Linked DNA regions of Homo sapiens: all the other regions are linked to region 3. The links are contacts of gene promoters, found by promoter capture Hi-C in human tissues and cell types (Jung and others, 2019). All regions are on one chromosome and are shown on one strand. Each heading gives the region's core, a stretch centred on a gene start or on the middle of the fragment in contact. The rest is flanking DNA. Distances are from core to core; before and after follow the strand shown. Region 1 overlaps LRP12 (LDL receptor related protein 12). Region 2 has its middle 61 kb from the start of LRP12. Region 3 holds the start of LRP12 (LDL receptor related protein 12).

Evidence for each region. Contacts are between HindIII fragments. The study calls those that stand out against the background at their distance.
Region 1: a fragment that was not itself captured here is called in contact with the fragment with the promoter of LRP12 in region 3 in 2 of the 25 tissues and cell types used here (bladder and mesenchymal stem cells).
Region 2: a contact is called between a fragment that was not itself captured here and the fragment with the promoter of LRP12 in region 3, in 2 of the 25 tissues and cell types used here (IMR-90 fibroblasts and aorta).

What each region holds. Positions count from the first base shown.
Region 1 is chr8:104,552,251-104,555,941 of GRCh38, forward strand. The region is part of intron 1 of LRP12 (LDL receptor related protein 12); the gene reads right to left. Among named protein-coding and RNA genes, the nearest start is that of LRP12, 35 kb to the right of the region's middle. The HindIII fragment of the contact is 3,481 bases long and covers 1-3,479 here.
Region 2 is chr8:104,648,053-104,651,918 of GRCh38, forward strand. No RefSeq gene overlaps it. Among named protein-coding and RNA genes, the nearest start is that of LRP12, 61 kb to the left of the region's middle. The HindIII fragment of the contact is 5,083 bases long and covers 1-3,866 here.
Region 3 is chr8:104,587,063-104,590,804 of GRCh38, forward strand. It overlaps LRP12 (LDL receptor related protein 12), which reads right to left and starts at 2,196. Exons shown (of 7, transcript NM_013437.5): 1 at 1,757-2,196. The coding sequence starts at 1,835. RefSeq lists silencers at 1,355-1,464, 1,895-2,234. The HindIII fragment of the contact is 16,882 bases long and covers 1-3,742 here.

The sequences.
Region 1 (3,691 bases), core at 489-2,988, 35 kb before region 3:
GATGGGGATACCAAGAAAATGGCATTTTTTAAATTTACCATTTTTGATCTTCAGTGACTCCTGGGTTCTTAACAGCTTATAGCCCATCAATCTAATAAATGTATAAATATGTCTTTTTTTTGTTGTTTTTTTTTTTTTGCCGGGCGTGGTGGTTCATGCCTGTAATCCCAGCACTTTGGGAGGCCGAGGCGGGCAGATCATCTGAGGTTGGGAGTTCGAGACCAGCCTGACCAACATGGGGAAACCCCTTCTCTACTAAAAATACAATTTTTTTTTTCTCTCAGCAAATAGCTAACTTTTCACTTACTTCTACTTAAGTCATCTCATAGCTTACCTACTCTTTCATGGAACCTTAAAGTACTATCTTCCAGTTAACCTGTCAGCTTGGCATTTTTCTACAGAAATATCACATGTGAAGCAGAGAATTATCCTTTTTCACATAATTGATAAAAGTTATCCAATGTAAGAAAAAAAATGGTGCACAGGAGGCAGGACTAACTTGCAGCTCCCACTCAGACAGACAGAGCAGTGTGTGGAGACCCATGTCATGAACTTTTGCTCCAAGAACTACCACAGAAACATACCAAGAAAGCCTAGAGAATCCACAGATCCTTTGAATGAAGCTGCTTGCTGCTGCAGGCTCTGTGAGATAGCCAAAAACTGTGAGTGCCCAAAGTGTGAGGGGGGAACGTTTGCCCCTAAATGCACATCCTCACTGGTCCAGATCATGGGAAAAGAACTTGACCTTACCTGGAGCTGAGATTAATTTAGAAAGCTGAGTGAAATATAGGGGTACAGGAAGCAGTGGGAAGAGCCCTGTGGGCACTCTAGGTCCACAGGGAAGCCATTTCTGACTTTGTCTTCCAGGGGTCCTTGGGGAGGGCTGCCAGTGAAACTGGCAAAAAACCACAGGGAGAAGGAAACTTCCAGTTGAACTTTGTAACAATTTCAACTGAATGTGAAGTTTACTGGACAGAATCCGGGGGAGGGGGAAAATGGGGAGTGCAGATACATGCACAGAAGTCTTGGCAGGGGCAGAGGCATGAAACCTGAAAGCCCTGCTTGCTTTCTCAGCAGGGAAGTTTGTAGACTGGGCCAAGTTCTCAGCCTTGCTCACCGGCTGCCTGGAAATAAACTTGGTGCTGTTGGAGAAGCACGGTGGGAGTGAAACCGGCCTTTCAGGCTGCATGGGAGCTGGGTAAGGCCTGTCATTGCTGGCTTTCCCCCACTTCCCTGGCGACCTGTATGATACAGCAGAGGCAGCCATAATCCTCCTGGGTACGTAACTCCATTGGCTTGAGAACTACACCTTCATTCCCCACAGCAGCTGCAGCAAGCCTTGCCCAAGGAGAGTTTGAGCTCGGCCACACCTAACCCTGCCCCCACCTGATGATCTTTTTCTACCTGCCTGGTAGCCAAAAAACAAAGGACATAATCTCTTGGGAGCTCTGTGGTCCCACCCACTGCCTGAGAAACCTTATCCAGGTGACCTTAGGGCAAGCTTGTATCCTCCTTACACTACCACAGCTGATGCTCTCTTGAAAGTGCCACCTCCTGGCTGGAGGCCAACAAACAAAAAACCAGTGCACTAAACAAAAATACAATCAAGGACCCTCACAGAGTCCACTTCACTCCCATGTTATGTTCACTGGAAAGATGCTGGTATCCATAGCTGAGAGACCTGAAGATGGATCACATCTCAGGACTTATTGCAGACACTCCCCAGTACCAGGCCAGAGCCTGGTAGCTCTGCTGGGTGGCTAGACCCACAAATGAAACAAGAATCACTGCAGTTCACCTCTCAGGAATACTACGGGAAGGGAGAGAACACCACATCAAGGGAGCAACCCATGGGAAAAATGACTCTGAGCAGCAGCCCTTGAGCCCGAGATCTTCCCTCTGACATAGTCTATCCAAATTAGAAAGAACCAGAAAAAAAATTCTGGCACTATAACAAAACAAAGTTCTTTAACACCCCCAAAAGATCACACTAGCTCACCAGCAATGGATCCAAACCAAGAAGAAATCTCTGACTTGCCAGAAAAAGAATTCAGATGGTCGATTATTAAGCTACTCAAAGAGGCATCAGAGAAAGGTGAATACCAACTTTAAGATTTTTTTTTTAAATGTTACAGGATATGGCCAGAAAAATCTCCAGATAAATAGATAGCATAAATAAAAAACAATCACAACTTCTGGAGATGAAGGGCACACTTAGAGAAATGGAAAATACATTGGAAAATTGAAACAACAGAACAAGTAGAAGAAAAAACTTCAGAGCTTGAAGACAAGGCTTTCAAATTAATCCAATCTGATATAAACAAGGAAAAAAGAATTAAAAATAAAATGAACAAAGACTCCAAGAAATTTGGGATTATGTTAAATGACCAAACCTAAGGATAATCGGTGTTCCTGAGGAAGAATAGAAATCTGAAAGTTTGGAAAACATATCTGAGGGAATAATCAAGGAAAACTTCCCTGACTTTGCTAGAGATCTAGACGTTGAAATACAAAGCTCAAAGAACACTCAGGTGATTCATCATAAAAAGATCATCACCTAGGCACACAGTCATCAGGTTATCTAAAGTCAAGATGAAGGAAAGAATTCTAAGGGCTGTGAGGCAAAAGCATCAGGTAACCTATAAAGTAAAACCTATCAGATTAACAGCAGATTTCTCAGCAGAAACCTTACAAGCTAGAAGGGATTGGGGTCCTATCTTTAGCCTCCTTAAACAAAACAACTATCAGCCAAGAATTCTGTATCCAGCAAAACTAAGCTTCATAAATGAAAGATACAGCCTTTTTTAGATAAACAAATGCTGAGAGAATTTGCCACTACCAAGTGAACACTACAAGAACTGTTAAAAGGAGCTCTAAATCTTGAAACCAATCCTTGAAATATACCAAAATAAAACCTCCTTAAACCATACATCTCAAAGGACCTATAAAACACAATGAAATATCACAATGAAACACAATGAAATAACACAATGAAAAATAACACAATGAAAACAAACAAGGTATTCAGGCAACAAATAGCATGATGAAAAGAATAGTACCTCGCATTTCAATACCAACATCGAAGGTAAATGGCCTAAATCCTCCACTTAGAAGACATAAAATGCCAGAATAGATAAGAATTCGCCAACCACGTATCTGCTGTCTGCAAGAGACTCATCTGAAACATAAACACTCACAAAGATATTCCATGCAAATGGAGACCAAAAGTGAGCAGAAATGGCTATTCTTATATCAGACAACATAAACTTGAAAGCAACAACAGTAAAAAAGAAATAAATAAATAAAAACACAAAGAGGGACATTATATAATGATAAAAGGACTAGTCCAAAGGAAAATATCACAATCCTAAATATATATGCACCTAACACTGGAGCTCTCAAATTTACAAAACAATTACTAATAGACCTAAGAAATGAGATAGAGAGCAACACAATATTAGTGGCAGACTTCAATACTCTACTGACAGCACTAGATAGGTCATCAAGACAGAAAGTCAACAAAGAAACAATGGACTTCAACTATACCCTAAAACAAATGGACTTAACAGATATTTACAGGATATTCCACCCAACAACTGTAGAATATACATTCTATTCATCAGCACATGAACAGTCTCCAAGATAGACCAAATGAAAGGCCACAAACGAGTCTCAATAAATTTAAGAAAAT
Region 2 (3,866 bases), core at 87-2,586, 60 kb after region 3:
TTGGAAGTGTAAATGCTTTTTTGGTAATTATTCAACCCGTAGTCTATAATGACAACTATTTACAACTTCCCATACATATGTATATACCTCATAGTAAAATGATTCTGCTAGCAGTCTTCAGGTTCTTCTCACTTTGGAAATTGCATTAGTCTTTATCCCATAATACAACGGGAACAGATTCTTTTCTTACTGCTCTTGAGATGTTGGCTTTTTGAAACGGACCCTGATGACCTGGTCTCAGCTTTGGTCTCCATATTTATTTTTCAGTCCAGCCTCTTAAGAACTGAGTGTTTATCAGAGAGCATATATGGGAGGTTTTACTCCTTTTCAGTGTATTCTGGATATTGTTGGTTATTGTTATATTTCATCACTTCCTGCCTGGTGTGCCAAAATGAAAATGGATAACTCTTGTATTGGTCAAAAACATGAAAGTGATTGTGATCGTTTTTAAAAAGACATCTGAAAATTCTTTGACATATCTCCCATCAAGAAGTGGACTCTAAATCTCTTCCCTTTGTGAATGGACTGGCCATAGTGACTCACTTCTAAAACAGAATGTGGCAGAAGTGACACTATGTGAATAACCAGTTTAGGGTAGAAAAGGCCTTTTTTTCTGGGAATACTGACTTTGAAACCCAGCACTGCTTGGAGGAAGCCCAGACCACATAACAAGGCCTGGTAGACAGCCCCCACTGAGGTCCCAACAAATAACCAGCAACAACCACCAGGCATATGAGTGAGAGGTCCTTTGAGATGCCACCACACCAATCCTCCTTTGAATTCAATGGCACTAGAGACTGGAACCATGTAGCTGAATCTGGTCAACCCTCTGAATTGTGAAGAGATAATACTGACAATTGCTATAGTTTTATGCCACTAAATTTGGGGTGGTATGTGATGTAGCAACAGATAACCACAATAGATATGACATTCCCTTGGTTAAACTTACACTTGCTCTGGGCATTTGATCCTTTTACTTTGTTAAGTCTATGTCTTTTTTCTCCATTAAATTTGTGATGCAAAATGCTGACTCATGTTGAGTGCCATTTTTAGAGAAAGTGAACTTAAGAGAGATATTTAGGGACCAAAGGAAACAATAGAGTGGAACCATTTTTGTTTCAACATAAAAAGATGTCACTTGGTAATTGCAGAGAATTAAGATGAATAGAGAACTCAGGGGAAAACTGTGATGGAAGGAGAGTTGATTACTCAGTTGAGTTCATTGTTCAACATGTGGTCTCTCACTTCTGTCTCACCCAACTTCAATCCAGTGTCTGAATACTTTTTCTAAAGCAGCAATCCTGTCATTCACCAACTTGCCTTAAATGCTTCTGATGCATTGTCTTTGGTATAAAACCCAATTTCCTTTGCATAACACAACAGAATCTTTATGAGCCCCTGAAGCTGCCCCATCACCTGTCTTTGCAGCCTCAGGATTCCTCCAACCTCCTCTTACACTCTGTGCTTTGATTGTTTCAATCACGGCTGTAGCTGCCTGTGCATAATTTTGAACTTGGTCTTCCATCTCCCTGGAATGCCTTTCCCCCTCCTTCTTTTCATGGCCAATTCCTACTCATTCTTCAAGTTCAACCATTAATGTTGGCTTTTTCAATGCTGGCTGAGTGCTGAGTTATACACACATTCTGTGTATTCTTTTGGCCCCAGGTGGTTACTTTCTGTCTGGAATTATCCTTGTCCATCTCCTTTCCAGGTTGTGAGCTCCTTGAAGCTAGGGGTTGTGTCTATTGAATCCCCAGAGCCTATCATCCCAGTAAGTGGCTCATAGTAAATACTCATATATGCTCCATAATGCATGAGTTATGGCAGACAGTAAGTGGGAGGAAATTGGAGAATGGTAAGCTACTGTTGTTCCTAGTAACTAGGAAGAAAGTATTATTGTGGTCTTTAACACTTACAATCTTACTACTTAAAAGTTTAGAATAAAGTGGAACAGATGGGATTTAAGCTGTGAAATAGCTTTGGGGCAGACTCTTAAATGGAAATAGGATGAAGAAATCAAACGATTACAAAATAAACTTCATCACGGTAAACTGAAAGAATACATTCTTTATACCTACAATTTTTTGCTTCCATATTATAGTACACAGAGCATATATTTTGAAGGTGAATTTTACTATTGGTAACTTATTCTATATGCTCTACAACTGTGTGTATGTGTATGTATGTAAAAAATACAAAAATATTTTTGTGAAATTATGTAGCCAATGGTATGTTAGAGATGCTAATAGAGTTTTGTAAGAACCAATTGTTAAATTTTTAGGAATTTTGGAAGCTGGTTATTAAACATGATTAGCTTGGAATTGGCCATGTTGGTAGTATTTATTTATTTATTGCCATTTATTTATTTTTCAGATTGAGTCTCACTCTGTTGCCCAGGCTGGAGTACAGTGGTGTGGTCTCTGCTCACTGCAACATTTGCCTCCTGGGTTCCAGCAGTTCTCCTGCCTCAGCCTCTCGAGTAGCTGGGATTATAGGCATGCACCACCATGTCCAGCTAATTTTTGTATTTTTTTGTAGAGACGGGGTTTCACCATGTTGGTCAGGCTGGTCTCAAACTCCTGACCTCAAGCGATCCACCTGCCTCAGCCTCCCAAAGTGCTGGGATTACAGGCATGAGACACCACATCTGGCCCAATGTTGGTACTATTTACACTACAGGAATAGGCAAATGCCACAGTACATACTTATTTTCCCCCAATACCTAACTGGTTATTAAATGTTTAGTGGCACATCACTGGATATAGTTTTGTTATACTCAGTAGAATGTTTATGTCAAAAGGCTGTACAAACTATTTGTCTTTCATAACTTGATGAGAAATGAAAGATGATCAAATGAAACCTATCATGTATGTAGGCAGATGATTGAAAGAACTAGACTGTCTCTTTAGAATACGCCCCAAACTTGAAACTTTCAAACATAGTGGAAATAAACACCATCCTTCTTCTATGGCACGAAGTTATTCTTTATATATTTCTCTTTTTTCTTTTTTGCCTTTTTACTGAGATGACCAAAAAGGAAAAAGTGTTATGGTTTTCTGAAGTGAAACTTTTGTCATTATTACAATCAAAGCAATTCTTTTCCTTTTTTTCTTTTTTCTTTTGAATCTGTGAGTAAATGCTAAATGATTCAACTGTAAGCTTATTATTAAAAAAAACTTATTTACTCGCTGAGTTATTTGTTCATTCCATAAATATTGTTGGAATACTTATGATCTGTAGAAGAGGATATGGTGGTAAATATGGCAAACCCAGATTTGCCTTTATGGAGCTCACAGTCAAATTAGGGAGGCAGAAAATAATCGCCCATGTTGTTACATGTTATAAAGAAGTTCAGAGGGAAGAGAAGGAAGTTAACATGAAGCTAATGAACCTTAAGTTTTAGGATACAGTCCCTATTCCCCGTGTATGTGTGAGGGCCCTCAGGTAAAGTGGACTTTGTCATGTTTGCAAAACTAAAAGGTAGCCAAGGCACTAGACTAGCAAACGAAAGAGCAACTGGCATGAGATGAGGCTGGAAAGTTAGCTAGGGACAAGCTCATGGATGGCCCTTCCTATGGTTGAAAGATTCTGGACTTTCTCCTAAGTATAATAGAAGGGTAATAAAGGGTTTTAAGCTGAGGAATGACATGTTTTAGAAAGATTGTTCTGAACTCTTGTGTGGAGAATAGATTGGAGGGGGAGCAAGAGCACATAAAACATAATGAAAAATGGTCCTGTTGTGAATTGACAGAGGAAGAGGTTATCTAAGGAGAATGCTAGTGAGATTATTATTATTAGGCTACTTACATTGGATATCATTTTTAATGACCTGGAAGAAGTGATAAAAATAATTTGATTATTCTTGC
Region 3 (3,742 bases), core at 946-3,445:
AACAAATTGAGGGGTTCACAGCCTCTTATCCCTCGAGGCAAAAGACTTCTAGTTCAAACACTGATGACACAGGTTTTAATGAAAGAAGAGCCCATTTATTTATCTATTCTGATCGGACATCACAGAAATTCAATGCTTATTATAGTAGAGGACAAAGCTGGACAATCCTAATCACCCTAAATTAAAGATACCTCTCAATTTCTTCTCTCTCCTGGGCCATTACACCAAACCTAGAGCAGAACTATACCCACCTTCAGGGCAGAAGAAACAACGTAATAGCTTATTGATCTCTGGTGTAGACCCAAACCCACAAGTCATCAGGCAAGCAGGGATTACAGCCACTTGATGCAGCTAACAATCAAAAGTCGTGTACTGGGTTTTTGGTCCCACACAAGCACACCTCTGGCAATTACCCCTACATAAAAAATGGACCAAACTACTCTCCTCACCAAAACAAACAAAAATACTACTAATCAGGTACGGGAGCAACACATCCTTAATTGTACCAAAAAGAATTTCTTGGCTGTCAGTAAATGCCCAATTACGTTCATTAATTCTTCATTTAGCGTCACTTGCCAGGTTTCAAAAGCCACCATCACATTCAATTCCGTAGATAAATGCCTTCAAAAGAGATAACACTTGCTGACAAATTGGCTGTTGACTAAACCTCACCACCACCACCATTATACTAGTCAAATCAATGTTTGTGGCAAATGAATTAGACTTTTTATAAGTAAAATTTACCAAAGTAATGATATCTTCTAATTCTTTTTCTGGAGAAATCAGAGCAACACTCCAAAAAGGAAAGGTTAAAACTGAGCTCTCTGAAATACCTATTCAGTGTGTTTAACTGATGAACTAAGAACGGTGAAGTCAGAAGTGTAACTTAATTATCTTAAGAGATAGATGTTCTTTGCAATTAATTCCATTCAGCTCTTGCTCAGACCCCAACGCAATATAAAGCTGTCCGCACAGTCTTCAGCCTTCTCTTAACCCGAAAGGAGTTATCTCTAACCCGATCCATCGACTGGAATAAAGTAACAGTGACCACAGCGGCGGACGAGGATGGATGAAATTACAATTGAACTAGGAGTCAGGACAGATGTGTACACCCTAACAGGAGAGACTGAGGTGGGGCTGGAAACTATTTTCTGGCCTTCTCCCGCGTGCTGCTCCCGGGGAACCAACAGGACCCTGCACGCCCGGATTCGGCAGAGCCCTTGCCCCCGAGGTGGAGTGGGGAGAAGTCAGCGGGAAGCCTTTTCAGGGAATCGAGTAGGACAAGGGCTGGCGCGGTGGGAATCTCGCCGGTGAGAGAACTTCCTAACCCCGGGTTGAGGGGGCGGGGGGAAGGACCGTCCCGGCAGCGGCGGGGGCGAGCTCCTCTGCTTTCTCACAGTCAAGCATCTTTGTGTGTGGATTGTGCCAGGCTACGGGTCCTGGAGCAACTGGCCGCGGGGGCCCTCGAACCCAGGTCGGGAAGTCCGCCCGCCACCCCCTCGCTCCGCCGGGGCCCTCCCGGCCGGGCCCCCCAGCCCCTCTCCACCACCCGAGGGTCTGGAGGTGGACGAGTGGAGAAAAGCATCTCCGTGTGGGGACACCCGTTCCGCCACATCCACCCCCTCACCGGTCTTTGTCCCGCCGGTAGCCAGGGTCTCCGCGGGAGTCTCCAGGGGAACCCCCGTCCTGGAGGCCTCGGGGCCCGGGTCGCCTCAGCTTTGTTCGGTCAGCGGGGCGCGGGGACGCGGACACTTACCGTACACCCCAGCGAGGAAAAGCAAGAGCAACGCAGACCTCCACCGCGGAGACTCTTTTGTGCTCCAGCGACAGGCCATAACCACAGCAGATGGAGAGAGAGAGGAGGAGACGGAGGAGGAGGGAGGAGAAGCTGGAGGTAGACGACGCCGACGCCGCCGCCGCCGCCGCCGCCGCCGCCGAGCCACCGGCTGCTCCCTGCGCTCTCCGCGGCTGCGGGAGGGGGAAGGGAGGGGCCGCCGCCGCCCGCGCGCGCTCCCTCCTCCCTCCTCCCTCCGGCTCGCCTGCTCCCACCCCGGGCGGTGCGAGAGCCCCACGCGGGGCGGCCCTCCTGGGGGCAAGGGCAAGGAGCTCGCGCGCCAGCGCGAGACGAGAGGGTGGCGGACGCCGGACTCCGGCCTCGCGCCGCTCGGGCTAGCCGGCGCCGCCACTCGCCAGACTGAGCGCGCGCCCATCCGTGCGATCGGCAATCCCCTGGCCCGCCTGCCTCGGTTCCCTCCCCGCGCTCCGCTGGACTTTCCAAGTTTCGGGCCGATTTCCACGCGACGGGAGCCCAAGGAGCAAGGCAGCGCCAATCGATGACAGAGCGTGCGAACGCCGGCTGCTGGATGCCCAGGGGCTGGAGCGCGGGGTGTGTGGAGGAGCACGGTCGCTGTCCGAGGGCTGGGCTCTGGCCCAGCGGGTGGGGGGAGGGGGGGTGGGATACCAGCTGGGAGGCTGAAGGTGGTTCCGTGTTGGGGGAGGCGTGGATGGTCTGAAGCTGACAACTTGGGAGTTCCTTCCTCTATCCGGTACCCCCAAGTCTCCACTTGCTGTCGGCGCGGAGCTTCGAGTGGGGGTGGGCTCAAGTTAGTGCGGCCAACCTGGCAGCTGGTCGGTCAAGGGGCAGTGTGGACTCCCACGCTCAAGGTGCCCGGAATGAGTCGGGCAAGGCTTGTGCAGAGCCCCTCCAGTCTGGCGTGGAAGCGCCAAGAGGTCATTTGACATCTCACGCTGGGTCGGGTGCAGCTGGGCCAGGATGTTCGGCAGGGCTGGAGCCGACTTTCAGGGTAGATATATTGAAAGGAGGATTCGCCCATCACGCTGCAGTTTCCCTAAAGCTCTTTTCTCACTCCCAGCAAATGGGAGTCCTCCTTTACTTAGATCCCCAGAACACTTTTCTAAGTACGTCTGTAGTGACGCTGGCACATCAGACCTTACCCCCTGTGTTTTTAAAGCGTTTGTCTACAACGTCTTATTTATATTAGATTTTATCGTTGCCCTTTGCAAGCACTCTCCATGCTATTCATTGAAGACCTACACTGCATCATGCTGTCCTATTGACATAGGTTGTCACTTTTTAATCCCAAACATCCTTGTGAGATAAATATTACCCATGTTTTATAGAAAAGAGAGAAATTAAATTACTCATGGCAAGTAAGTTGTTTGAAACAGTTTTTCTCATTCCAAAGTAAAGATTGTTGCCCCTATACCACAGCAAACTCTCTAGCACAATGCTTAGCGCCTAGTAATGTGTCGGAGTTGGTGCCTGCCAGGGGGTTCGTGGTCTCCCTGACTTCAAGAATGAAGCTGCAGACCTTCCCGGTGACTGTTAACAGCTCTTAAAGATGGCACGGACTCAAAGAGTGAGCGGTAGCAAGGTTTATTGCGAAGAGCAAAAGGACAGCTTCCACAGCATGGAAGAGAACCCCAGGTGCTGGCTGGTGGTGGCCAGCTTTTATTCCCTTGTGGTCCCCTCCCATGTTCCATTTCTGTCCTATCGGAGTGCCCCTCTTTCAATCCTCCCTGCGATTGGCTACTTTTGGAATCCTGCTGATTGGTGCGTTTTACAGAGTGCTGATTGGTGCATTTTACAGAGCGCTGATTGGTGCATTTTACAATCCTCTTGTAAGACAGGAAAGTTCCTCAAGTCCCCACTGGACCCAGGAAGTTCAGCTGGCCTCACCTCTCAGTAAGTAAATGTTAAAATTTAAAACATACTTTCTGG